Linked DNA regions of Homo sapiens: regions 1, 3 and 4 are each linked to region 2. Evidence: promoter capture Hi-C in 16 types of primary human blood cells and fetal thymus (Javierre and others, 2016). All regions are on one chromosome and are shown on one strand. Each heading gives the region's core, a stretch centred on a gene start or on the middle of the fragment in contact. The rest is flanking DNA. Distances are from core to core; before and after follow the strand shown.

Region 1 (6,570 bases), core at 3,966-6,465, 1.1 Mb before region 2:
ATGCAGATGAGAAGACTATACTCTGTTGTCAGTGGGTGGAGTATTCTATAGATGTCTATTAGGTACAATTTGGTCAAGTGTTGAATTTAAGTCCAGAATTTCTGTGTTCGCTTTCTGCCTCAGTGATCTGTCTAACACTACCAATGAGGTTTGTGGTAGTGGAGGTGATAATTCTTATAAAATAGATGATAAAGGTGATAAAGAGGTTGCCCAAAAAACTCTGAGAAGTCAAATTCTCAGCATAAGAATGAAGAGAACTGAGATAAGCTTAGAAAAATTATAATAGTTTTGATGAATCCTTAGAGTGTATTGTTCTGATTCATGATCTTCCAGCATTAGTGCCCATCAGCCTGGTAGCCCTCAGCAAGTCTGCTACTTCCCGTTAAAGCAGCAGTGGTGTGATTACTACTAACAGTATTACTAGTTTTTATTATGATGACAATGCTAGAACCCATCAGCTGCTGTGTTAAGGGCTTTATATACATCAACATTTCAAATTCTGACAACAATCTTGTGACTATCATCACTCCTATTTAATAGAACACAATGATGAAGCCCAAAGAGGTTAAACAGTGGGCCCACATTTTCCAGTACAGACTAACAGAGCTGATTTGAAGTCTTGGGGGGTGGTTGATCAAGAAAGGAAGCCACCGTATCCTACGTGACACTGGCCTTGTATGGAAGTACCCAACAGTGCTGTGAAGGCCTTCCTCCTCTCCCAGTCTCCTTCTGGACTTGCGCTTTCATCACTTAAAACTCTATTTTTTTACATTGCCAAATGCTCTTCATTCTGTCAGAGGAAGCATATTTAGCTATGATCAATCTGCTTTCATTAAATCTTTAGTGATGCTGAGGGAAACGAAAAACTACTTGAAGCAGACATCAGGGACCTGGGCATCTAAACAGGCTCTATTTCTTACTTGCTTTGTCATCTGAGGCCACATGGTTTCCCCTTCTCCCATTTTGGTTTCCTCATCGGGAAGCAGGAATAAATGTTTTCTTTGCAGTGTAGTTGTGAAGTACCATTGATTCAATGGATCTAAAAGTTCTCTGTAAAAAGTAAATTCTCATAAAAAGACAAAATATTCTTTGTTCTTGGGTTAAAAGATTATTTTTAGTTTGTTATAACCAAGTCAATACTAGTACACATCATTATTATCCTCATACATGAAAATAAGAAAAAAATCCACAGTCTCTTCATGCAGAAATAGCAGTTAACACTTTAGTGTAGATCCTCCCAGAACTTTTATTAAAATGAAAAATACTCGGCCAGGCACAGTGGCTCATGCCTGTAATCCCAGCACTTTGGGAGGCCGAGGCAGGCGGATCACAAGGTCAGGAGATCGAGCCCATCCTGGCTAACACGGTGAAACCCTGTCTCCACTAAAAATACAAAAAAATTAGCCGGGCGTGGTGGCGGTCGCCTGTAGTCCCAGCTACTCGGGAGGCTGAGGCAGGAGAATGGAGTGAACCCAGGAGATGGAGCTTGCAGTGAGCCGAGATCATGCCACCGCACAACAGCCTGGGCGACAGAGCGATACTCCATCTCAAAACAAAAAAAAAAAGAAAAATACTCTTGCTATTGTAATTATAATTTTGCAAAAATCAGTTGTTATTGATGCTGTACTGTTCTATGCTGACAAGATGGAGAAAGGAAAGAGACTGAGGGCAGTAGGTTGACCAGGTAGGAGAAGGGGCTAAAGAGGAACAGGGGTACATTTACTCAGAAGCCACCAGACTGGTAGCTAGTTGGGTAATCAGTTAAAGCAGTTAGTCAGTTAGAGCAAAGAAACATTAAAAATGGAAAACATTTTTAATATTTTACTAAAGTAAAACATATAAATATTCTTTCATTTGACAGTATTTTGAAGGGATAAGGCCTCTTTTAAGACATGTGACATCTAATAGGAGTCATGTGTAGTCATTTAAAAAGTCAGTGGTTTTCAGTCCCAATAGCTTTAAAGTAGAGCCAGAACTGAAGGACAGTTGGGGAACAATCTGAGTTCAGAATTATTCTAGATTTAACAAAATTTTCCAATTATTTTACACTTGCCTCACCTGCATGAAACTCTAAGATTGTTTTGTATTTGCTTTGTTTTCTAAGCAACTTGTCTTTACTGTTTATGGAAAGCATTCAGTTTGGATTTTGGACAACAGCAATTCTTTCCCTCACTCATATTTCATTGCTTTACATAATTACAAAAACAAGTGCAACTGGCAAAACCAGCTCGTGGACAAACATATCTGCCTCTTGGTAAACCTAAACTGTGGAAGCAGAACTACCCCAGGGACCTTAAAACCTGACTCCCGAGGAAGCAGTCACTTTGCTTTAGGCAGTGCGTGTAACGGAGAGGAAGGCAAGCATGGGAAAAGCCAGTTTTGAGGATTTCTCATACATTGCAAAAACAACTGTGTCCATCAGGACCCTTTTGCTGCAAGTAACAGAAACCCTCACAAAAGCTGGGTTTTAAAAAAAGGGGATTTATTCAGAGATAAAGCAGTCTTCATGGTTAGTCAGGCATGGTGCCTCATGCCTTTGTAATCCCAGTGCTTTGGGAGGAAGAGGAAGGTGCATCACTTGAGGCCAAGAGTTCTAGACCAGCCTTGGCAACATAGCAAGACCCTGTCTCTACAAAAAAAATTTAAAAATTAGCCCAGTGTGGTGGCATGAACCTATAGTCCTAGCTACTTGGGAAGCTGAGGAGGAAAGATCATTTGAGCCCAGAAGTGGGAGGCTGCAGTGAGATATAATCTCACCACTGCACTCCAGCCTAGGTGACAGAGCAAGACCCTGTCTCTTAAAAAAAAAAAAAAAGAAAGAAAAAAGAAAAGAAAGAAAAAGAAAAGAAAAAAAGAAAGGCTAGTTGAATCAGTAGTTTAGCAATGTTACTGGACCCCAGATTATTTCCATTGCTCCACTCTTCATCCGCAGCATCAGCTTCCTCTTATGACTGGGGCCAACAGCTGGACATCTCGTTTCCTTTTCCTCACTGGTAGGAGAGAGAACAGGTGTCCATTTGGAATTATGTCCTTCCCTTCTGTCTGACCAGTTCAAGTTGGGTCTCATACCTGCCCCTGGACAAATTAATCATCATCATCAAAGGAATGGCATCTGGTGATTGGTTTAAAATATCAGCATCCACTTCTGGAGCTGGGAATGAGTTCGGCTTCCCATTCCTGTGAATCTCATGATTCGTGTGAACACCTGAACAAAACCGGATCCTGTGAAGGAAGAAGTGGTGAGGAAAGCATGCTCAGAGAGATGGCTACTTCACATTACTGCCTCTTGCCAGGTCTGTTTCCTCAGATGCCAGGATTGTACATTCCCAAGCCATCTTGGTCAACACGGTATCATCCACCTACTTAACTAGTCTTCCTTTAATTCAGGGTCACAAATATTGATGGGTTCTCCCAGGGCCTGGAGCCCCGCCTGCACTTCCCGGGGTTATTCCCTGGCCCATCCTACAAGGAAGCATTTTATAGCTGCTCTCCCTTCAAAGCTCCAACACCTGCTCCCCCTCCCTCATAGTCTAGCTGATGTCTTCCTCTCAAACTTCACAAAGAAGCTTCAAGCTGCAGACTAGACCTTCCCTTCATCAACTGTACCCTGCAGCTGTCTCTGCCCACGTGCTCTTTCCTAGGCCTCAGTGGGGGAGTTGGCTGCTCTCTCAGGCCAACCTTACCATCTGCTAGCTCCTGGACCCCAGCCCCCCTCACCTTCTCAGGACCTTTTCAGGCTGGCTCTGCATCCAGCCCCTCTCTCTCTAACTCCAAAGGCATACAAAGGTGCCGGAATCTTGCATCTTAAAAACCAAGTCAACCAAAGCCAAAAAAAACTCTTCCCTGACCTTCTCCCTCCTGTTACAATCTTGTTTTTTTCCATACAACATGTCTTTAAAGTGCTGTTTAGAGGCACTGTCTCCACTTTCTCAGTTCTCGTTCTCTCAATTCACTGTCATTGAGCTGTTGAACCCATCACTCCCCAAAACGGTTCTAATCAATGTGATTAATGACTTATTTTGCCAAATCTGGTCACTTGTTGCTTTTCTGACCCTATCCTTTAGCACTTTCTTCAACCTCTCACTTTCTCCTCCAGCTTCTATAGCACACCCTCTCCTAGGTGGATTTCCTTCCCCAATCACTTGCTGTTCCTCCATCTCCTCTCTTTGAGGACGGCCAAGATTGATTTGGGACCTTATTCTTTTCCCCTTCCCTCCCCTCCACTTCTCTTTCTTTTCCTCTCCCCATCCTCTTTCAATATTTACGTGGCCCAGCTTATCTGTTCAACTCCCTGTTTAAAGTCATTCCTTGCTGATGATTGGCAGGTTTACAGTTCCACTCCTGATCTGTCCACTAAGCTTCAGGCTTGTAGAGGCAGCGGGTTGCCTCTATACTCTGCTTAAAAGTCTAATAGCATCTCCACCTCATATGCCCTAAACAGAACTTTGGGTTCCTTCCACCTCTGTCCCTCAAGCTCACTTCTCCTCTAGTCTCTTTATCAACTTAGGAAATGACACCACCATCTACTACACTGTGGCTCCAGTCTCACACAGGAATCACTCTTGATTCCTCTTGTCCCGTGCTACTCCCTTCATATACTCCATCAGTGAGTGCTGTCATCTTCCCCAAGACAGCCTCAATTCATCCTCTTTTCTTTATCTCTAGCTCTAAGCTGCAATCATCTCACGGAAATACTGTGAGAACCTGGTACAATTTCTATTCTGCACAGAGACCAGAGTAATCCACAAATATTAAGTCAGATCATCTCACTCCCTTTTGTAAAAACCCTTTTGTGGCTTCCTGTTGTGGGCAGAACTAAATCAAGACAGCTTATCATGGCCTAAGAGGACTTACCGGAGCTGGTCATGACCCCTTCTGACCTCATTTGGTGAAATTGGGCCCTGGGCACACTGACCCTCTGCCTGCGAAAACGCAGGCTCATGCCCACCCAGTGTCTTTCAAGTTTCTCTGCTCCTGATTTTTACAAGATTTTATCTTTCTCATTATTAAGTTCTCAGCCTAAAGGTCACGTCCTCAGAGGCCTTTCCTGACCACCCAGTCTAAATTAGCTCCTTGCCCTCATCACTCCCTACTCTTAATTTTGTTCTACTTTTGTTCTAGAACTTAATGCTATTTTGATTATCTTCCCATCCATTTCTAGACTGTAACCACCGGGGAGGCAGAATACTTTATCTTGTTTACTATTGTTAAATGAAATTTATGGGAGACTATTGTTTTGGACTGGGCTCCTGAACTAGGCCCAGCAGACCAGAATGGAGTCATTCATGTTAAATGCCACATAATCAAACTGAACTCTGAAATAGGCCAGCTTTCTAATAAAAAAAAAAATAGAGAGCGAATGAGATTCACAGCAACTAATCAAAAGGGGAGCAGCTTACCTTAAGATGGTATGACCAGGAAGTCCCTTCTGCTTTAACACTATCAGGGTACTAACCTTGAAACAAAGCATCTGCTTTTTGTTCTCTGTTTCTGTTTTCTTCAGCCCTTTTCTGCCTATAAAGCCAGGCTCGTCTTCTCAGCTCATCGGAAAACCCATTTTATTTTATAGGATGAGATGTTGCCTGATTCTAGAATTATTAATAAAAGCCAATTAGATCTTTATACTAAATTTGTTGTAATTTTGTTTTTTGACACTATGGTGGTCTCAGCACCTAGAACAATAATATAAGCAAATAGCAATAATAATTTAATGAATAATTCTGTTTGCCTGACTTACATCCCACTTTCAGAAAGGAATAACCTCCTGGGAGTAGTCAGCAGAGGTCCCAGGACAAGTAGCCATGGGAGTTGCCTAATCTTCTTTCACTCACCGCTTAAATCATTTAGCAAATATTAATTGTCAGGTTATGGGCTAAATACTGGAGGAACCCAGATAAAGAAATCACAGTTTTTGTCATTTCAAGAACTCACAGACTGGTGGGTGGTGGCAGACTAAGAGGGTAGAAAATTACAGTGTTGCCGTTTGATAAATACAATAGGAGAGGGAAGCACAGGCTCCTATTGCAGCTCACAGAAGGAGCACCTAACTCACATGAAGTCAAGGAAAGCTTCCTGGAAGAAGTGATACTTCAAGCAAGTCTTAAGGGTAAGTAGAAGCAGTGGGTGAAGAAGGGGTGGGAAGTGGGAAGGAACGCTCTAGGGAAGGGAGAAACAGAGGCACAGAGGGTGGGCAGCTGCAGGGGAAGTGGAAGGTGACCAGGAGGTAGCATGGAAACAATGTGGACAGCTCAGTAGAGACCATATCATGAACAGCCTTGTTACAACAACAAAAATAAGAACAGTGTCTAACGTTTACTGAGGACTTACCATGTAACAGGCACTGAGTTAAGCATATCACCTGTGTTTTCTCAGTTAATCCCTGCTACAACCCCAAGTAGGCTTTATTACTATGCACATTTTATTGAAGGGGAATGTGAAGATGTTACTGGAAAGGCATCTCGGTCCAGAACCCAAGAGAGAGTTGTTGGATCTCATGCAAGGAAGAATTCCAGGCGTGTCCACAGAGCAAAGTGAAAGCAAGTTTATTAGGAAAGTAAAGGAGTAAAAGAA
Region 2 (6,555 bases), core at 1-2,500:
TATCATCTTGCTTTTCCAGTGGTGATGAAAAAGCAAAATTCACCCAAATACAATGACTACTGTCTACTTGAAACGCTCCAGGTAGTTAATTTTTGAATTATGATTCACCTTCCCTTTCCTGTTTTGATGAACCATGAACAGGAGACTGAACCTTCCCTATCAATAAAAAGCTCGCGTTTCCACCCTGCAAATTCGCGCTATGACAGTCTAATTGGCTGAGGCGCAGGTGGGATTTCCTGTCGCCATTTTAAGACACAACTCCTCTGCAAGCAAGTGCCCAGCCAGTGAAAGGGGGCTGTGTCTGAAACAAAGAGTAAGCGGGAAAAAAGGGAACCAGGCCCAGTTGCCCCTGCTCCCCTCCATGCCGCTCCCTCGTCCCCCGGACTTGGAGCGCCCCAGCTCCGTTAACCTGGACGCACCAGGTCCTTCGGTCGGGACCACGTGGGGTCTCCAGGCCCTCCAAGAGCTGGCCCCCGGCTCTTTGCGCCTAGGCCGGTGCTTTCTCGGTGCTCAGCAAATCCTTCTGGTTCACCTCACACCCAGTCCCCAAAGCAGAGCTCCACAGGGCAGATCTCAGGAAGGGCTGACCAGGTCTGCGGGTGCTGGATCCGGAAGAGGGGAGGTGCCTCCCGCTTCAGGTTAGGGACAAAGGGTTTTTAAAGGTGCCCGAGCTCCCCGCCGCCCCTGCCACTTCGGTCCCCTTCCCGCCAACCCGGGCCATCTGCAGGCTGTGCCCAGGGCCAGCCCTCCGCTCCAACGCTGCCCGTAGTCCCAGGCGCTGCCCGCGGCTCTCCGGGCTGCGCTCGGACCTGCCACTCCCGCGGCCATCCTCATGCTGCGCCCTTCCCACAATGCAACTCCCTCGCTCCTTCGGCCCCGGCGGGGCTCTGGCGTACCCAAAATGCAGGCCCCAGCGGAACGCACAGCCCTCCTGTCCTCCGCCGGTGCCCCTTTAGCCGCCCCACCCCCATCCCTAAGGGCTCTCATTCTCCAGCTGCAGCCGCAGCTGGGTTCCGAACACGCCGCCGGGCCCCGGGAGGGAGAGGGGCAGGTGCCAGGGCGGCGCGCAGCCTCTGCTCCCGGTGCCAGCTTCAGTGCGCCGGGCACACGCGCGCCCCGCAACCCCTCCCTCACCCTTTCCCCGTTGCTCAATCTCCGCCAGCCGCGGTCGCTGCATCGTCAGAGAGCTGCAAGAGGGAGGCAGCAAGGTGCGGCCGCCAGCAGTGACACCATGTGACCGGCACGGCTCACTGACACGCAGCTTTGGTTAAAGAGCGGGCGCACAGGAGGGGAGGAGACCGCGCGCGGGACGGGGAGGAATGGCCTGTCCGCGTTAAACCATCACAAGCCATGGTTGCGGAAGGGCCACGCGTCCCCCAGTAGGAGAATGACTCCGATTCGTGACCCTCAGCGCCGGTGCATGTCGATGTAAGTGCGAGGCCGGCGAGCAGAGTGTGAGTGGGGGTTGGTGGTGAGGGGAGATTCTGATGCAATCGGCCCGGAAAGGAGGAGAGCCAGGCGAGCGCGGACTGGGGCGGCCACGCCACTCCGCCAGAAGGTCGCCAGGAGCCTCCGCCCTTCACCTTCCTCCGAAATCCGCCAGGCCACGCCAAGCTCCCTGCCCAACCCTTACTGACGGGGGCCACATTTTCCCGGCCTCCGCAGCCAGACCTTGACACAAAGGACATCAAACTGCCGAGGGTAAAAACCCCGGAAGGGCGGACACCTCCACATCGCCTTTTGCCACCTTTCCCTTTATTTCCGGAGGTAAGGTGATTATCCGTTCCCGGGGAGGGCTGGGCGAGCGGCAAGGGGAGATTTAGATGTCGGAGGAGGAGGTAACGTAGAAATCATCTCTGCGGGCGTGAAAGCAGAGAGAGCTCGGCTGTGCCCGATGCTTTCGGATGTTGCTTTTAGGAGAGGAAAAGTCCAGGTCTCCTGTGCTTCCCGAACGCACGCGGCAGCGGGAGGAAGCGCCAGGGCCCCCGAGTTCACCTTTGCGTGGGCTGTGGCTTACTTTTTGGTTTGTTTTCCTGTGACTTTGGTGTGTTTTCCTGTGGCTGTGGCAGAGTGTGGTACCAGATCTGGTTCCATTTTTACGAGAGCCAGGAACCACGCACGTCTGGAGGGAGAGCGCAGCTGACCCGAGGGCGCGACCGTGTTCTGGGAGTGTTTGAATCCCCGGCCTTTGGTGAAAATTTCCTGTGTCCGCAAGGCCCAGAGGAGATCGTGTGATGTCCGGGGGGTGCTGCGTGCGGCCGGCTGGGTAGCGGCCGCGGACCACCACTAAACCGGGGCATGTTTGCCGTCCTTCCTGGTGCTCTGCCCCTCTGTAACGCGGGGAAGTAGGAGGGCGCGGGGAGAAATTACTAAAGGATGCTTGCAGTGACTCACTGTCCTTTCCTGCCCTGAAGAGGATTTTCTAAAATGCAGAGGGTGGCAGGGGACAGAGGTAGTGTTTTTTCGAGAGCCGGGATGTGCTGGAGCCAGCGAACAAAAGGCCACCTCTTGCGCGGTCTTGGGCGCAGACTGCTCTCGCTTCCAGTCCCACCTCCTCCCCAACCCCCGGCACCTAGTTCGCGTCCCTAAACGTTGCCGCAGAGGCCTTTAAACGCGTGGGTCGGTGCCGGGAGGAGAGCGCATCTTCGCCCTTGTGCGAGCCCCTTGCCCCCTAAATTATCCACCTCCTGGCGCATGGGGCTCCCCAGCACCCACTGGGACCCAGTAGGTTACCCGGCTGCCTGGGCACCGTTTGCCTGCCAAATCGCCCGCCTGAGGTTTGTGCTGAACTGTAGTTAGAGAAGGCACAAGTGCATATGGCAGCAAAAGGAATTTCGCGGTACCCGCGTCACGCCGCTCCCAGTGCCTTTCACAGGCTGCCTTGGGCTGGGGAAGGTGGTGCTACAATTCAGAGTCCTTTGTCTTGCTCTGCGGCGCGGACCCGGGGTTTGTACAAACCCTCGTTCTCTGTTAGAAACCTAACTGCCGCCAGGATCACGTACTTTCTCGGACGAATCCGCGGTGATGTGTGTAGCAAAAGTGAAAAAAGACGCCTCTGCTAGAAAACGGTATTTATTTGCGTTTGGAAGGGGTTTTGACCTCTCTGCAGTGGGTTTTTACATTTTTCAATATAAGGGGGAGGAGGAAAATAAATTTATGGTTTGCAGAATGCAGGGCCCAGCGAGGGTGTAATTTGTCACCTTGATAAAAGAAACTGTGCAGCAACTCGTGCTTTTTCTGACGTCAGAAGGACAACGGAAATAAAACCTGAGCTCGGTGCATGGCTGGCCTCGTTGTCAAATGTCTCATGCCAATTTGGTACTCCCGAAATCTTGCAAAACAGCCAATTCCGGGGTACTGACCTGGTGTGGACCCCCTGGATTTTGGTTCGACCCCAGCCTCAAAATGGCCTTTCTCTTGAGAGTCACTCGATTTCTCAGTATGTCGCTGTAAGCAATTGGAAACTGGAATAGTTTGGTTTGAGGTCTTAATCTTGAGGTTTATTCGCTTTTTAAAAAAATGTGGCCAATAAACATTTTCTACAGAGGGCTTACTGTGCGACTGGCAGCAACTAACAAGATTTGTTTCACCTTCTATGAAGCTTCCGTTCTCAGGGGGAAATAGACTATATAAATGTAGGCATATACATTTCAGGTATTCTTAGTGCAATGAAGAAATAAAACAGGATCATGTGATGGGGGAGGATGCTTGAAATAGAGTGACTCACCGGGAGGGGCGGTGTGAGGGTATAACATTTGTCCTCAGACCCGAATGATGAAAAGGGATCAGCTATTTCCATAATTGAGGGAAGAAGGCCAGCGGAAGGAACAGGAAGAAGGAACAGCAAGTACTTATTGCACTCTTCTTTGACTGTAATATAATTGAACAGATAGATGAATAGATTTTAAAGGTGTTTTGGAGCTTTAAACCTATATGTATGTTGTTTATGTATATTTTTTATGATGCTTCATGAATTAAGGCCATTTAATGAAAGGAGCACCATGTTTCTGATATCTGACTATTGCTACTCTTTTCTTTACTCTGGGTGATGCTTGTGGACAAAAACCGATTTTACTCATTGTTCCTCTAATGTCCAGCACATAGTACCTGCTTAATAAATACTTGTTGGATCGAGACCTTGAGACCTTGATCAGGCCATCTTGTTCATCTCTTTGTGATATTATTGGCCATCCCTTCCGTTCTATATCTCATCTGTTCCCCTTCTCCTAAGTTTGAAAATGAGAGTCTTTTTCTTCTCTGCTTCTCCTTCTCGTACTGCCCTTCCCACTTTGAGCAGTGACCAGGCCCTTGAAAATACCCCTCACACTTGTCCTCTTGTCTCCATTTCCACTGCCCAAGTTCAGGTCCCTGTCACCTTACCTAGACTTGGAGACATATGAAACAGATATAGAGGTGCCTTGAACAACCTAGGGGCAGTGGGAGTGGGCGGTGGAGAAAAATGCAAGCACAACATATGGTTAAGAGTGAAACAGCCAGTTACTGAGGTGGAACAGCTTTCCTGTTGGTCTCTCCTCCATATCAAGTTATGCTCCCCTAATTAAATCTCCATTCTTTCATGAGGTTTATATTTCTAAAATTCAGTTCACATTTTGTTAAAGGACCTTGCTTTTAAAAACCTCTGAGGGTTTCCATTGCACACAAATACAGTCTAAATTCCTTAGCCATACACTTAGGACCCTTCACAATCTGCCTTCTCATCTCTTTCCAATTTTTTCTCTTGATATTTTCTTTCTCACAGTTCACCCTATTCCCTCCCTATCACTTTTCTGCTTCAATATCTGTGTGGATTGGATTCCAGTCCAGAATGCCTACTGAAATCCTGTGTACTTGTGATGGCCTATCCCTGATGCCACTTTTCCACCTCTTGGGAGAAGTGTTCACTGATCACCTCACTGGCATTTTCATAAGTATTTGTTTATCCTTCACATTTTGGACTGTTGTTACTCCAGGTGATGGAAGGTGGTGAATAGGGGCTTAGGCTCTGAGTCAAATATAAATATCAGGCCTCAGCTTACTCACCCAGGAATCTTGGGCAAGGTGTTTGGCATCTCTAAGCCTCAGTTTTTTCTTTTGCTAAATGGGAATGATGATGCTGGTGGTAGTGTTGGTGGTACCCACTTTACTGAGTGATGGTAAAGATTTAATGAAGATAATGAATGTGAAGTATTTGGTATAGTGTTAGCATTCCATATGTATTGAATTAAACATATCTACCAGAGGAGGGAGAGAAAGTTGATCAGTAAAGTTCCCTTTACCTCTGAAATTCTGTGACTATGTAATCTTTTAAAAATACTTTTCTGAAAATATATCTTGATGGAAACTACCTGGATCTTTTTAGTCTCTGGGAGAATATACATCTATGAAAGGTGGTGAGGAGGTAGGAGAAGTATGTGCACAGAAGTACTTTGAAGAATGTGTGACAGACTTCGAAAAAGACATCTTGTATGCAAAGGCACACAGAGTAATATAATGGACTGTGGAGACTCAGAAGCCAGAGGTTGGAAGGGAGGATGCCAGATAAAAAGCTACAGATTGGGTACAATGTGTACTACTCAGATGACAAGTGCACTAAAGTCTCAGATTTCATCACTTTCAATTCATTTATATAACCACCAAAAATCACTGATACCCCAAAATCTATTGAAATAAAAAAATTTTAAGTAAAATTAAAAGATTAACTTCAATAACCTAAAAAAAGACACTGACCCTAGATTTAAAATAAGATTTTAAATTTAAAAATATTGTTGTACTTATTTCTGAAAATTGATCACATATTTGTTTTCTAGTGATAACCTTACTAATAACAGAGGAGTTCCCCTAACCATGTTACCTTCCCAATCACTGAATTCCTCTACTATTAGTAAGTAACTCTGTTTCAAGTGAGGTTACAATGTGTCTTTGGCAATAACTAGCTGGGTACCCTTGAGCAACTCATTTCACATTTTTATGCCTCATTTTCTCATCTGTCCAATGCTAATAATAGTATCAGTGCTGCGTACCTCAGAGTTGTGAAGATACAATGAGAGCAGAGCTGAGAAAGTCCTTGAACAAGTTTAAAAAAACTATTCAAGATGATAGTCATCTGGCATTAAGCATGCTGCTAATCTTCAGGGTCAGGTGATGGTTTTAGATTAGTGAGTCTCAGAGCAGACTTCACATTAGACTCATCTAGGGTGTTTTAAAAGCTGTCAGTGCCAAGACTTCAACTCCAGAGATTCAGATTTAGTTGGCCTGGGATGGAGCCCAAATATGGGAGCTTAGAAAATATCAGGGGTGATTTTGATATGCATTGGTTTAGATTTAAAGCAAGGAAAACAAAACAAACATCAGAAATTAAATGAGGACCTCCATATGTTGCTTGACAAAGTCTTAGTCTTAGTAGTGTGAAATTATGAGCTTGACTGACTTTTCCCCCTGATTTTACTAAACCAACCATTTGTTGACATCATGGAGCCACAGCCTCAGGTTACAGTTTATAACCTGAATTTTCCCAGGCATAGACGCCTGTCCAGTGATACAGCCAGAGCCACATGA
Region 3 (6,952 bases), core at 5-2,504, 1.1 Mb before region 2:
AGAGGAAACTGATCCAGCTTCGCTGGACACTGGCCTGGGATGAACAATTAGCCTTCTTCCAAACACGGTGACAGAGACAGACACTGCCAGGGTTCCTCGCCAGACCTCAGAAAACCCACATCCCTTGAACGTCACTGGCTTCAGCCCTCGAGTCTAGTTAGAACAAGGCGATGTTGTCATGGCTGACTTCTGGGCCCCCTGTGCTTTTGCTGGGAAGCACCCACTGCCAGTGTGTGGGTATGTGAGGTGGGGAGTGGCGGCCACAGGGGCAACACATTGGCAAGGCTCACAGCAGGGAGTTGGTTATTGGCTCAGTGCTGGCCTGGTCTGCAGTTGCCTCTCTTTCAGAGACCCCTAAATGTGAGAGGGGATGACCCAGCATCCCTGCTTCTCATCCTTCTTCCTCCTGCAACGCTCCCATGCCCATGAATTCTGATGTTTTTCCTTGTCAGAATTTGCTTGTGGGATCTTCGGACTAAAAAAAACCTTTGAGCTTTATTTTACCCAAAGGTTTTCTCTCCATCCCTTCCTTCTTTCTTTCCTTCCCCACTTCCTTCCTTCCTTCTTTCCTTCCTTCCTATTCTTTCCTTCTTGCTCTCTCTTTCCCATGTTAAATAAATTAACTGGGAGGCCATTAGTCTGAGATAGCCTCAGTACCTCAGGTTCTTACTTAAGAAAACCTTAGCCCAAACTTAATGTAAAACTAAAAGGAAACTTAAGCTTAACGAATCAGAAAATCCACCAACTAACCTCTAACTAGGACTTTCCACTACACCTCATAAAAGTTTCCCCTCTTGCCCCCTAGGTGAAATGTCAAACTGCTTCCTGTCTGGTGCTGACTGAATTACGAATCACTGAATGCTCAAATAAACTCATTAAAGTTTTATTGTACCTAAGTGTGTCTTTTAACATCTGCATATTTTATTATAAGATCTGTCTCCTGGCTGTGTGGTGGCTCACGCCTGTAATCCCAGCACTTTGGGACACCAAGGCAGGAGGATCACTTGAGCTCAGGAGTTTGAGACCAGCCTGGCCAACATGGTGAAACCCTGTTCTACAAAAAAAAAAGTTAGCCGGGCAAGGTGGCTTACGCCTGTAGTCCTAGCTACTTGGGAGGCTGAGGCAGGAGGATTGCTTCAGCCCAGGAGGAGGAAGCTGCAGTGAGCAGAGATCACACCACTGCACTCCAACCTGGGTGACAGAGTCAGACCCTGTCTCAAAAAATAAAAAATCTATATCTATATCTATCTATCTATCTATCTATCTATCTATCTATCTATCTATCTATCTGTCATCTATCATCTGTCTATCTCCCGTGTAAGCCATATGCAAGTATCCTTAAAAAGAAATTTTCTCACAATGACCGTCACCTTAATATAATCTGATATGTAGTAAAATTTGAACTCCCAAAAAAAGGATTTCCCACAATGACTGTATTTCTAGAGGTTTGATTTTGTGGTGTCTGCTACAATATATAGTAATGCATAATTTTATGTCCCAGAGCACATGTGGATTTGCCTGTGACCTATCTAAGGTTGGTAGGACTGCACCCTCTTTACAAGAATAAGCTCTCTCCACCATCAAGTTCCTCATGTTAAATAAGGTGTGACTCGTAGTTAACTGTTTTTCCCATTCACATATTTATATGGTTTCTCCGTGGTAAGAATTCTCTAATGTTCAATAAGGTCAGGGTTCTGCCCAAAGGGTTTTCCATAGTGATTACATTTAAATGGTCACCCCCAGTTTATATTTTTTAAAGGTGAGAACTGAGCTCTTATAAAAGCTTTCCCACCCTGGTCGGGCACAGTGTAATCCCAGCATTTGGAGAGGCTGAGGCGGGCAGATCACTTGAGGTCAAAAGTTCAAGACCAGCCTGGCCAACGTGGCGAAACTCTGTCACTACTAAAAATATAAAAATTAGTTGGGCATGGTGGCACATGCCTGTAGTCCTAGCTGCTTGAGGAGGCTGAGGCACGAGAATCGCTTGAACCCAGGAAGCGGAGGTTGCAGTGAGCAGAGATGGTGCCACTGTGCTCCAGACTGGGCAACAGAGTGAGACTCCATCCCCCTCTCCAAAAAATAAATAAATAAATAAAGCTTTCCCACCCTCATAACTCAAGTAGGTATGTATTTTCATATGCATTTTATGGTGTGTTTTTTTTTTTTTCTGGAATGACTTTCCACACTCATTACACACATACGATTTATTCACCTTCCCAAATTTTGATGCTTTTAGTTGAGGATCTACATTTAAAATTCTTATAGAGTGCTCCTTTCAGAATGCTGAGATTTTTCTCCAACTTTTTGTTTTATATACTCTCCCTCTGGTGAGGATTTTCCTTGCCTGATTTCTACTCAGGTGGAAGCAATGCCCAAGGAAGGGGTCTTTCCTTCTCTTCCCCTTCTGCTGTCTTTCCAAGTACCCTCTATCCTCAAGGGACTCTCTGAAGGTCTTACACCCTTCTGCTGCTGCATAGGCTCACATTCTGAAGCCAATGGCTCCTTGCTGGTCTTGGTGTAGTTATCTGACACAGTGGGTAGAAAATGCTAATAACATCACAGCTTGGTTGGGTCAGTATGAGAAACTCTTCCTAGGTCTTCAGGAAAGCAAGACCCAGAGTTCTCGCAATTTAGAAATCACATTGGGGCAGTTGGAAATGCCAGTGAGACTCAGGTCTTGTGATTCTCCAGCATCTTGTCTCTGGAAAGTTCCTTCTAGGCAGGATTCAAACACAACGTCTCCTCCCAATCCTCAAACTTTAAGTCATCCCCAAACAATTTATCTCCAGTGCAGTGGCCAATTCTTGGATGAGAACCAGGTATCGCCTGGCTGAGAGGACGGCAGTCATTACTGGGAACCGAGGACTTTCTCAGAAGCCTGAGGAGGATCAGGTGCAGCATTCGTCCGAGTCCTGAAATAACTGGCTTCCTGACTACAAGGTGTAGGTGCTGGGATCGGAGGGAGCATGGATGCCCTGGGTATTTGCATTACAAGGACTCAAGCCTTAGCTGTGAGGATCAAGTTCTAACCAGGGCACTGCAGGCTAGATCCAGCAGGGGATGTTGAATTTCTTCTGGTAGCAGCACTGCTAAAATTACCTATTCCGCCTGTGTGTGCATGCCTGCTCCAAGCCACAGGTGCAAAGCTGGAGTCCTCAACTAATCAGGAATGTGAGTCCTTGACTTAGATTTTACTCTTGCTAAGATCTTGGAGATGTCATGTAATCTCATGGGTCCTCTGGGGCTAGACAACTTCTGCCTGTCTCATGGGATTGCTGGAGTGGTAACAAAAGAGGAAAAATCTGTGGAGCTGAATTTTGCAGGGGTGTATGCAGGCAAAGTGGATGCTTTTTGTAACCCTGGCCATATTCTATTTGAACCATTTAGCACTATTATCTGATGCACATTCTAGCTGTTGAGCTTTACAGGAAAATGTAGCCAGGCATGGCTGGAGATGGGAATAGATGGGCTGAAAATAGTGTACATTGTAGCTTTTGGGTAAACTTAATTGCGATAATTTCATGATGTATTTTGGTAACTTCTTAGAACAACACTAAAATGAAAAACAAAAAGTCTCTGTACAGTTGTCTCTCTCATTGGTTCCAGGTGGACATATGGCAGCCAGGAAAGAGATTGATGGAAATGGTCTCCGATGTCTGGGCAGAGCTTTTCTAGTCTTCTCTGAGAAGAACAACATTCTTGGTAGACCACAGGCCTGGCTGTAAAACCCTGTGCATGGAAAGGATGAAGAACCAGATGAGAGGATGTGTCAATAACACCCTGTATTCATTTTCTGTTGCTGCTGTAACAAATTACCACAAACTTTGTGGCTTAAAACTACACAAATTTATTCTCTTACAGTTCTAGAAGTCAGAAGTCCTCTGTCTGCTTCACTGGGCTAAAGTCAAGGGGTGATCAAGACTGGTGGTTCCTTCTAGAGGCCTGAGGGCATAATCCATTACTTTGACTCTTCCAATTGCTGGTGGCAGCCTGTATTCCTTAGCTTGTGGTCTCCTTCTTCATCTTCAAAGAGCACCACTCCAATCTCTACTTCCATGGTTACATCTTCTTTGACTCTGACCCTTCTGGGTCCCTCTTAAAAGGACCTGGTGATGACATTGGGTCCATCTGGATAATCCAAGATAACCTCCCCATCTCGAGGTCTTTACTTTAATCATATATATAAAGACCCATTTGACATATAAGGCAACATTCATAGGTTCCAGGGATTAGGACTTAGACATTTTTGTATTTGGGAAGACTACCACAAAACACACTCTGAATTTTTTTAATAGAATATAAGGATTTAATTGAATTTTACAGAATTATTTCTAAAAACAACATACCCTTTAATCACTAGCAGAAGAGCAAGAGAAAGAGCTGACTATAGATTAAGAGCAAAATGGCATCTTCAAAACATACAGAATGATTTGAGATCAATTAACTGCATTTCAGTTTCTTTTCTTTTCGTTTCTTTTCTTCTTTTTTTTTTTTTTTTTGAGACAGAGTTTCACTGTTGTTGCCCAGGCTAGAATGCAGTGGCACAATCTTGGCTCACCGCAACCTCTGCACCCCAGTTCAAGCGATTCTCCTGCTTCATCCTAACTGAGTAGCTGGGATTACAGGCATGTGCCACCACACCTGGCTAATTTTGTATTTTTAGTAGAGACAGGGTTTCTCCATGTTGGTCAGGCTGGTCTCAAACTCCTGACCTCAGGAGATCTGCCCACTTTGGCCTCCCAAAATGCTGGGATTACCGGCGTGAGCCACTGTGCCCAGCCTGCATTTCAGTTTCTTAATGACCAATTTATTTAACTTTAAATTTTTACTAAATAATATTCAACTTGTTTCATTTAATGATTCAAATGTCATTTTCCTATTTTTCAATCCTTAGTATCATTTTGCAAATTTCTTAAATGGTTTATCAGTCTTAATTTTAAGCTTCTAGCAATTAAAACTTTAAATTAAATTGTATTAAGTCAAATTAGATTAAAATAGTAAAGGCTTAAGATAAAAGGATGAAATTTCAACTGCGTATTTTCAGGTAAGCAACAGCAAATGAGATGTTTTTAAATTAAAGTTTAAAATTTGAACTCAAAACCACCTGAAAAAATTAGTTATATCTCCAAACTATTCTGTAAGAAATTATGGACATTTAAAATTTCTCACAAGAACAAATTTGAGATAAAACAAGCCAAGGAAGCAAAAAGGAAGTAAGGGTGCCCAGAAGATTGTATTATAATTATTTTCATGACCAATGCCTCAAGTTTGATATTCACCAAGTGTAAATCCAAAACTGTCATAAAAGGGTTTTGTTTTAATGGCTTAAAAAATCCTAAAAATACTGAAAAGACTGGTAAACTGATAAACTGGAAGCTACAGGATCAACAACATCACAAGTAAATATGAATTAAGTTGTTAGAAAAGTTAGATTGATAAAGGAAATTCCTAGAATATAGTGCCCCAATTTGAGAAATTGGCAGAATAATAAGAGGTATGCTAAAATGTTGGCAAAACCAAAAAGACATGAAAGAAATCAGTATAAACTGAAAATTTCTTGTAGGAAACAAACACTGATTTTTTGGTTATGGGATGATTTTTGAATTTTGAATACGTTTTGAAAACACTTAAAGACTTCTTTAAATGCTGCTACAAAGACAAAATAAAACCTCGTCAATGAAAACTGTAGAAATTCTCCAAAACTACTAAAACTGTTCCATTGGAGACAAGTCACTATATGTTTATAAATAAGATAAGCAAAGTTTTTTTTTAAATAACATGTTAAATTTGATGAATTGATGACAAATTGTTTTTTGGTAAACTGGTCTTTCAGTTGCTTGTGCTTGGGTAAGCTGCCCTGCTTCTCCTGGTGAGTGGGGTTTATAGTGAAGACGCCAGGCTACCCAGTGGCACTGAAAGAGGTGGCAAAACCAATTGTTTCTCTCTTCTCACTGCCTGGGCCCTGTTGCTGGTGAATTCAAGTTGCCTGGAGACTGTCTCACTGGGGATCTGGTGTTTTCCTACAATAAAACTTCTCACTCCAGGGTCCTCTCCCATCCGAGGCATGCGTCTAGCATATCTCTAACAGTCTGTGCATTTGTGATTTATGTGATTTCAACCAAACCTTAAGGCTCTTGGGCAGCGGCTATGCCTTATCTTTCTCTTTCCAGACCCAAACCTGGTGCCTGGCACATTATACGTGAGTAAAGGATGACTGTTTAATAAATGGATGAATGTGGGAAGGACTTTTTTAAAAATGTGTTATTTTTCCAGGAGTTTATTTCTGACCCCTTCCTTGTGAATCCAGTGCCCCTGTGCTTCCCTCTATGATGAGTGAGACGGGTCTCAATCTATTTAGAGGTTTATTTTGCCAAGGATGAGGACATGCTCGGGAAATAGAGACACAAGCCACAGTAAAATCTGTGCACTTTTTCCAGAGCGAATTTTGAGTGCTTCAATATTCAAAGGAGCAGGAGGGAAGGGAGGAAAGAAAAAAAAAAAGGGAGGGTAGATAAATGAGACAAGTGATTACATTCTTTTGCACATGAAAAGAAGGGGGTAGAAGAATAGTCAATGATGTATTCATCTGGTGCTCAGTGAATCTGCCTTTTACATAAGATAAGTAAACATAAAGGAGAGGCAGAAGTCAAAGATGTATTCCTCTAGGTGTGGGCAGGGGGATGATTTCTAGTCTTCCCTTGTCCTGCGCCCATGAAGATAAGTTGTTAATATACATGCACAGGGTGCTGGGGGCCACCTGGGGAGATATCTATTTAGGAACAAAAGGAAAGGCAGTTGTGTGTGTGTGAGACTCAGTTTCCAAGCTTAACTTTTCCTTTCAGCATAGTGAGTTTGGGGTCCTGAGATTTTATTTTTCTTTCACAATGGCAAAGATCACACCTGTTTCCTTGTTCCCCTCCACCTCACTCAAGCAGGGCAGCCCTGCTTTATG
Region 4 (6,166 bases), core at 3,131-5,630, 1.5 Mb before region 2:
GTTCACAGAAAAAACCAGGCCAAATCCCTGTTCCAGATTCCTCCACCCATCGCGGCCTGGAACAGCCAGAGAGCTGTAGCCAGAAGTCATAGGGTGGACCCCTGCTTCTCTTGTTCACTCCCTCTCCCAGCCTCTCCCAGTGAGGCAGGGCGAGGAGGGACCCCAGGGCCTTGAAGCCAGCTGGCCCTGGAGAGGGGCTGCTGTGCCAGCTTGGGGAGGGTCTGGGATGGGGCTGCCCCTGATGGCCCTGATGTGGAGTACCTTGCCAGCATCTGCTGGGGTGAACTTTATTTTAGCCCTTCCCTTGTTGCTCTTATGAAGAACAGAGGAGGGGTGGGCAGGTCAGTGATGTCAGCAGTGAGTATTCCCAGCACAGCGGCTCTGGAAGAGGCATGAGGCATTTCTTTCAGGAAATGATCATTATTCAGCCAGAAGGCATTCATTAAGTAAGTCCTGACTTTGTGCCCAGCTCTGTGTTATAGGCCCTTGGCGAGACTCAGGAGGGGCAGAGGACGCTAGGTTGTAGATAACACGGAACCTCAGAGGATATATGGTCCAAGAAGACCCGGGGGCGGTGAAAACCCTGTGGACTAATGCTCACGGGAGCCCGAGGTCACACTTTGACTTTGCTACCATGGGCTGTGTCTATGTACGTATATATGCTGCGTAATTATTACAGAGGCAGTCCATGTGCATTGTGGATACTCAGACAGGACAGACCAGCAAAAACTAAAAAATAAAAAACATCACAGACGCATCAGTCAGAGATCACTGCACATCTTTCCATTTCCGTATGTGTCTTTATGTGTTGTAATTTTTATGAAAATGAGATTACTCTGCATATACTGTTTTTTCAGTCAGTGATTTCCACCTTCCATTACAGTAAATTTTCATCTTAACGGAATTCCCAGTTGGCCAGAAATTGTCCTTACAGCTGGTTTGTCCAAATCAGTACCCAGGACCATGCCATCTGTCTGTTGAGTGACCTGAAGGCAGTGTAAGCACCCTAGCTGGATTTGTGATCTGGAAAAACCCCTTCAACCAAGTCTCAAGGGCAGCCTGGCTGCAAAAGGGAATCAGGTCACGTGGAGAATCTGCCCACTAGACTTCTGCTGTCTTCCAAAGTAATAGGCAAAAGGAGGGGGATTCTAGGGCACCACTGGGATGGGACCTCTAGGGTATTTACTGTCATTAATGTTAATGTGGCATCCCTGTGAGTGTCAGGATTCACAGCTTGTGGCTATTCACATCCGAGATGCCTCAGTTCGGTTTGCCTGGTTCTTACTGAGTGCAGACCAGGGTCTCCATTGTGGCTTCTGCCTTCCTCTGCCCCAGATCCAGGGATGCTGATAGCCGTGCGGCTGTGTTCCTAGTCCCCAGAAAGTGGCCCTGAAGGTAGGTGCTCCCTTTTGCACTTGTGGGTGCTTCCAGCGCTTCCACCTGCCCAAGGCCTGCCCGTGAGTGAGAGACAGAGATAGAGATAGAGAGAGAGAGAGAGAGAGAGAGAGAGAGAGAGAGAGAGAGACCTTTTCCTCCCAAGAGAATTTACCCCCGAGTACCCACTCTGAGGGTGACTTGCTCTGGTTATGCAACCCGCATTTTGTAGAGGGCTTGACAGTTTCCAGAGAGCTCACGCAGCGTTTGATCCTCTGTGGCAGCCCTGGGAGGTTTGCTTGTTTAGTTATACCCTGCTGGAGGCAGCTAACAGGAAACACTGTAAAGTGTTTAAATGGTACACTTTAAAATGGTAAAATGTACATTTAAAAAGGAAGGGAAATAGAAGATGAAAAAGGAATTGAGGATGGCAGGGGTGGAACACAGCACACTTTGTGGGAACAGGCTGGCATTGGGAGCATACCCTAGGGCCTCACTGTGTCTTGCATCCCCTTGTCCCCTTGGTGGTCTCACCTCAGCCACTACTAGGAGGCAGGCTGAGTAAGCAGTCCACGCCAGTGTACCGATGCTAAGCTTAGGTTCTGGAGTCCCAGCAGCTCCACATACCATCTGTGTGACCTCAGCAAGTTTCTGAACCTCTCTTAGCCTTAGTTTCCTCATTTGCAAAATGAGAATAATAACAGTATATAGGCCGGGCGCAGTGGTTCACGCCTGTAATCCCAGCACTTTGGGAGGCCAGGGTGGGTGGATTCAGTGAGTTCAGGAGTTTGAGACCAGCCTGGCCAACATAGTGAAACACCGTCTCTACCAAAATACAAAAATTAGCTGGGCATGGTGGCTTGCACCTGTAATCCCAGCTACTTGGGAGGCTGAGGCAGGAGAATCACTTGAATCCGGGAGGCAGAGGTTGCAGTCAGCTGAGATTGTGCCACTGCACTCCAGTCTGGGTGACAGAGTGAAATTCTGTCTCAAAAACAAAACAAAACAAACAAACAAAAAAACAGTATCTGCCTTACAGAGTTGTGAGGACTACTTGCAATAGTACAATTAAAATGTTTAGTGGGGGCCTGGTGTGGTGGCTCAGGCCTGTAATCCCAGTACTTTGGGAGGCAGAGGTGGGCGGATCACTTGAGGCTGGGAGTTCGAGACCAGACTAATCAACAGGGTGAAACCCCGTCTCTACTAAATATACAAAAATTAGCCAGGCATGTTGGCGCACGCCTGTAATCCCAGCTACTTAGGAGGCTGAGGCAGGAGAATCACTTGAACCCGGGAGGCAGAGGTTGAAGTGAGCCAAGATCGTGCCACTGTACTCCAGCCTGGGTGACAGAGTGGGACTCCATCTCAAAATAAATAAATAAATAAAAATCGCTTAGTGGGAGGATGTTGCCCTCCCCCCGCCAAAAATGCCTAGGATAATAGCCAGCACACAGTAAGCATTAACACATGATTGTTGATCATTATTAATATTATTAATTAATTAAAATAATATAACTATTGTTGATATTGTAACTTAAACATTTCCCTGGCAGTCTTGGGAATGGGCTGCGTGGCCTTGTGGGTGGCACAGGTGAGAAGAGTGAGGAAGGCACATCTCGCTCGGCCTGCAGCTGGGAGAGGCAGAACCAGTGGGCAAAGCAGGAGTAGGGTACACAGAGGGGCAGGGTCTGCATGAGGAGGGCCCAGGAGCTGGGGTGACAAGGAGAGCAAGGGAATGAGTGTGACACCTCAGAGGGGAGAAGGAGCCGCCCCTAGAGGCAGCCTGGGGCGGTGACTGTGCTTCCTGTTGGGGCAAACACTGGCCCTTGAGAAAGACTGGCTCACACTGGCTGCTAAAGGAGCAACTGGTCTAAGTGGGGCACCAGAGGGGTAAAGGCGAAGGGGAGAGATGAAGGCAGAAACTGGCCGACTTATCCCCATGTTACAGATAGGGCCTCAAATCTTGCCTGCTCAGGATGTTTTGCTTATGATAGGAAAGATGGTAGTTAGACATCATGGTGAACTTCCTATCTCAGGGACTGGAGATACTGGAGCAGAGGAGTGAGGATGAATGTGGAACTTATGTCTTTGAGGGCTTTTTGGAACTGAGAAATCTTAGGGTAGTGTGGACTAGGGGAGCCCACTGGCTCAGGAATTCCCTAAGTGGGCAGAGCAGTGCAGGGGCAGGCCAGGCTATAAGCTGAAGGCCATGGGTAATAGGAAGTAGATGCAGGCCCTCCAGGCCTGCCACCGCAGGAAGTAGCTATGCCCTCCCCTTCACAATGGACTTGCAGGGAAGGCTGAGTGGTGGCCCGAGAGGTCCCGGGAGTTGGACAGGGCTGGGAGGACCCCTGTTTTTCTCTGTCAGAGGACAGCAAGGGTCTCCAGAGAGTGCCAGACCCAGAAACCGACAGCCATACGCAACTCAGAATGGCCCAGCTCCCCGGCCTCAGGTTCTGCCAGGTCTTCATCCTTGAGGAGAGGCCACAGGGTGGAGCTGGGGATCTGGGGTGGGGGACAAAGAACCAGGGAGGATGCTTTCCCACCCCCAGGGAGCTCAAGCCGCTGCTGCCATGGTTACATCTGCTTCCTGTTTGATTCATCTCAAACAGCAGAAGTGGAGGTGGGGTGGGGGGGCGACACTGGCTCCCAGCTCAGGCCACTGCTGCGTGGGGCTGTTTACAACAGCCGCATGTGGGATTCCCAGAAAGAGACTCCAAACCGGACATCCTGCGGCTGCAAAATACCCAGGTGTCAAGAGCTAAAAATAGCTGCCTCAGGGCCCCAGCTGCCCTGAGGTGGCGGAGAAAGAGGCATGCTCACTGTTGCCACCCTTACATCCAGCCTCCTGTTTGGTGTGCAGGAGCTTCTCTGTCCTCTTGCCTCGGACTGATGGAGGCCTTCGTCTGGGTAGGCAGACATCCCGGCTGGCTCACCTGGCAGCTGAGCCTCTGCCCTGATGGGCAGCTGGCTCCTCTGCCTATACAGAGAAATGGTGCAGCTTGCTTTGGGACGCTAATGAGAGAGTCCTAGAGGGACTTGGGAGCTTCTAGAGAAGGGATATGGCAGGGCACTGAGAGCAGGGGAGTTGGAGCTGAGGGTCCTCTAAGACCCCAACCCATTGCCAGCCCCCTGTTTCCAGCACACAGTCCCAAATCATTGCTTGGTTTCTACAAAGTCAACAGTTGCTCCAAATGATTCTTTGAGATTGTCTTCATGGGCACCCAAAGATGACATAGCTTCTGCCCTCTCACCTGCGCAGGGCTGGGGATTGCTGCTGGCACGGGTCTCTGTGGGGCTGTGTGATTTTTTTTTTCCATCTTTCTGCATGCCCATCTAGGTCCTGCATGTGTCCTTTGCTGGCTGGCCTGTGGCGAATGGGAATGCTGGGGAGGAGGGGTGGAGTGTATTGGTTGAGAGCGTGGATTCTGAAGCCCAATTGCCTGGGCTCAAGTCCCAGCTCAACCTCTGCCACTTGTCTGTGACCTCAGACAAGTTATCTAATACTGCTGGGCCTCAGCGTACTCATTTATCTAATGGGGATAAAACAGTAAATACCTCATAGGTTTGTCATGTGGACTAGATAAGTTAGCAAATGTAGGGTACTTAGAACAACTCCTGGCACATAATAAGGTGTTCGCTTACAAAAGTTCAGGTGGAAGAGAAAGGGAAGAGAGCATAGTTGGGAGAGGCTGGGGATAAGAGATAGGGCAGGGGGCTGGGCACGGTGGCTCACGCCTGTAATCCTAACACTTTGGGAAGCCGAGGCAGGCAAATCACCTGAGGACAGGGGTTCGAGACCAGCCTGGCCAACATGGCAAAACACCGTCTCTACTAAAAATACAAAAATTAGCTGGGCTTGGTGGCTTATGCCTGTAGTCCCAGCTACTTGGGAGGCTGAGGGAGGAGAATCACTTGAATCCAGGAGGCAGAGTTTGCAGTTAGCTGAGATTGTGCCACTGCACTCCAGCCTGGGTGACAGAGCGAGACTCCATCTCAAAAAAAAAAAAGAGAGAGAGAGAGAGATGGGGCAGGGGCATGCATTCAGGAGAAAATGGTCTGTGGTAGAGGAGGGAGGAGAGTTGGGAGCAGACACTGAAACGCTAATGCCAGGAAGGAGGCTGCAGACAAGTACAGGAGGCAAACTAATACTCGCTACCACAAGGGAGCACCCACCATGTGCTGGGTGCATCACAGACAGCATTGCTAATCTCAGGTGACCTCTTTGAAGTAGGTATTCTTTTTGTTTGTTTTTGTTTTTGTTTTTGAGACGGAGTCTTGCTCTGTCGCCCAGGCTGGAGTGCAGTGGTGCAATCTCAGCTCACTGCAGCCTCCGCCTCCTGGGTTCAAGCGATTCTTGTGCCTCAGCCTCCCAAGTAGCTGGACTACATGCTCCCCGCCACCATGCCTGACTAATTTTTGTATTTTTGTTAGAGATGGGATTTCACCATGTCGGCCAAGCTGGTCTCGAACTCCTGACCTCAAGTAATCTGCCCGCCTTGGCCAGGGCAGAACTTCCCCAAAGTTCTGGGATTATAGGCGTGAGCCACCTCGCCCAGCCTGAAGTAGGTATTCTTATCTCCTGATTACAGGTGGGGCAGCTTAAGCAGGTTAAATTGTGTTTCTGGCTTGCTTTGCCAGTCACCGAGGGAGTCGGGGCTTAAACCCAGGCCCATCTGACCGCAAAGCCAATGTCCTGTGTGCTTTAGACCTTCAATTCCCTCACAGTTTGTGGCCTGCCAGACTTCATGTGGCAGGGGCTTCCAGCCCACTCTCAGCTCCCTGCTGGGTT

The links. Contacts are between HindIII fragments. The CHiCAGO score rates a contact against its expected background, and 5 or more counts as called.
Region 1: a contact is called between a fragment that was not itself captured here and the fragment with the promoter of SLC38A1 in region 2, in 1 of 17 cell types (non-activated CD4 T cells). The highest score is 6.6, in non-activated CD4 T cells.
Region 3: a contact is called between a fragment that was not itself captured here and the fragment with the promoter of SLC38A1 in region 2, in 2 of 17 cell types (activated CD4 T cells and total CD8 T cells). The highest score is 7.1, in activated CD4 T cells.
Region 4: a fragment that was not itself captured here is called in contact with the fragment with the promoter of SLC38A1 in region 2 in 1 of 17 cell types (non-activated CD4 T cells); the score reaches 6.8 in non-activated CD4 T cells.

Annotation. Positions count from the first base shown.
Region 1 is chr12:47,366,310-47,372,879 of GRCh38, reverse strand. It overlaps LINC02416 (long intergenic non-protein coding RNA 2416), which reads right to left. Exons shown (of 4, transcript NR_183615.1): 2 at 5,456-5,588; 3 at 3,070-3,222; 4 at 1,040-2,990. Among named protein-coding and RNA genes, the nearest start is that of MIR4494, 5.3 kb to the right of the region's middle. The HindIII fragment of the contact is 1,710 bases long and covers 4,361-6,070 here.
Region 2 is chr12:46,263,738-46,270,292 of GRCh38, reverse strand. It overlaps SLC38A1 (solute carrier family 38 member 1), which reads left to right and starts at 1,250. Exons shown (of 17, transcript NM_030674.4): 1 at 1,250-1,767. LOC105378248 (a long non-coding RNA gene) reads right to left here and starts at 1,222. Exons shown (of 2, transcript XR_001749101.1): 1 at 1,135-1,222. RefSeq lists silencers at 701-800, 881-1,060 and enhancers at 1,471-1,570, 1,621-1,670, 810-1,792, 1,791-1,850, 2,776-3,759. The HindIII fragment of the contact is 4,151 bases long and covers 1-3,603 here.
Region 3 is chr12:47,384,961-47,391,912 of GRCh38, reverse strand. No RefSeq gene overlaps it. Among named protein-coding and RNA genes, the nearest start is that of MIR4494, 24 kb to the right of the region's middle. The HindIII fragment of the contact is 1,063 bases long and covers 723-1,785 here.
Region 4 is chr12:47,806,164-47,812,329 of GRCh38, reverse strand. The region is part of intron 1 of HDAC7 (histone deacetylase 7); the gene reads left to right. Among named protein-coding and RNA genes, the nearest start is that of HDAC7, 11 kb to the left of the region's middle. RefSeq lists an enhancer at 3,329-3,398. The HindIII fragment of the contact is 4,820 bases long and covers 1,971-6,166 here.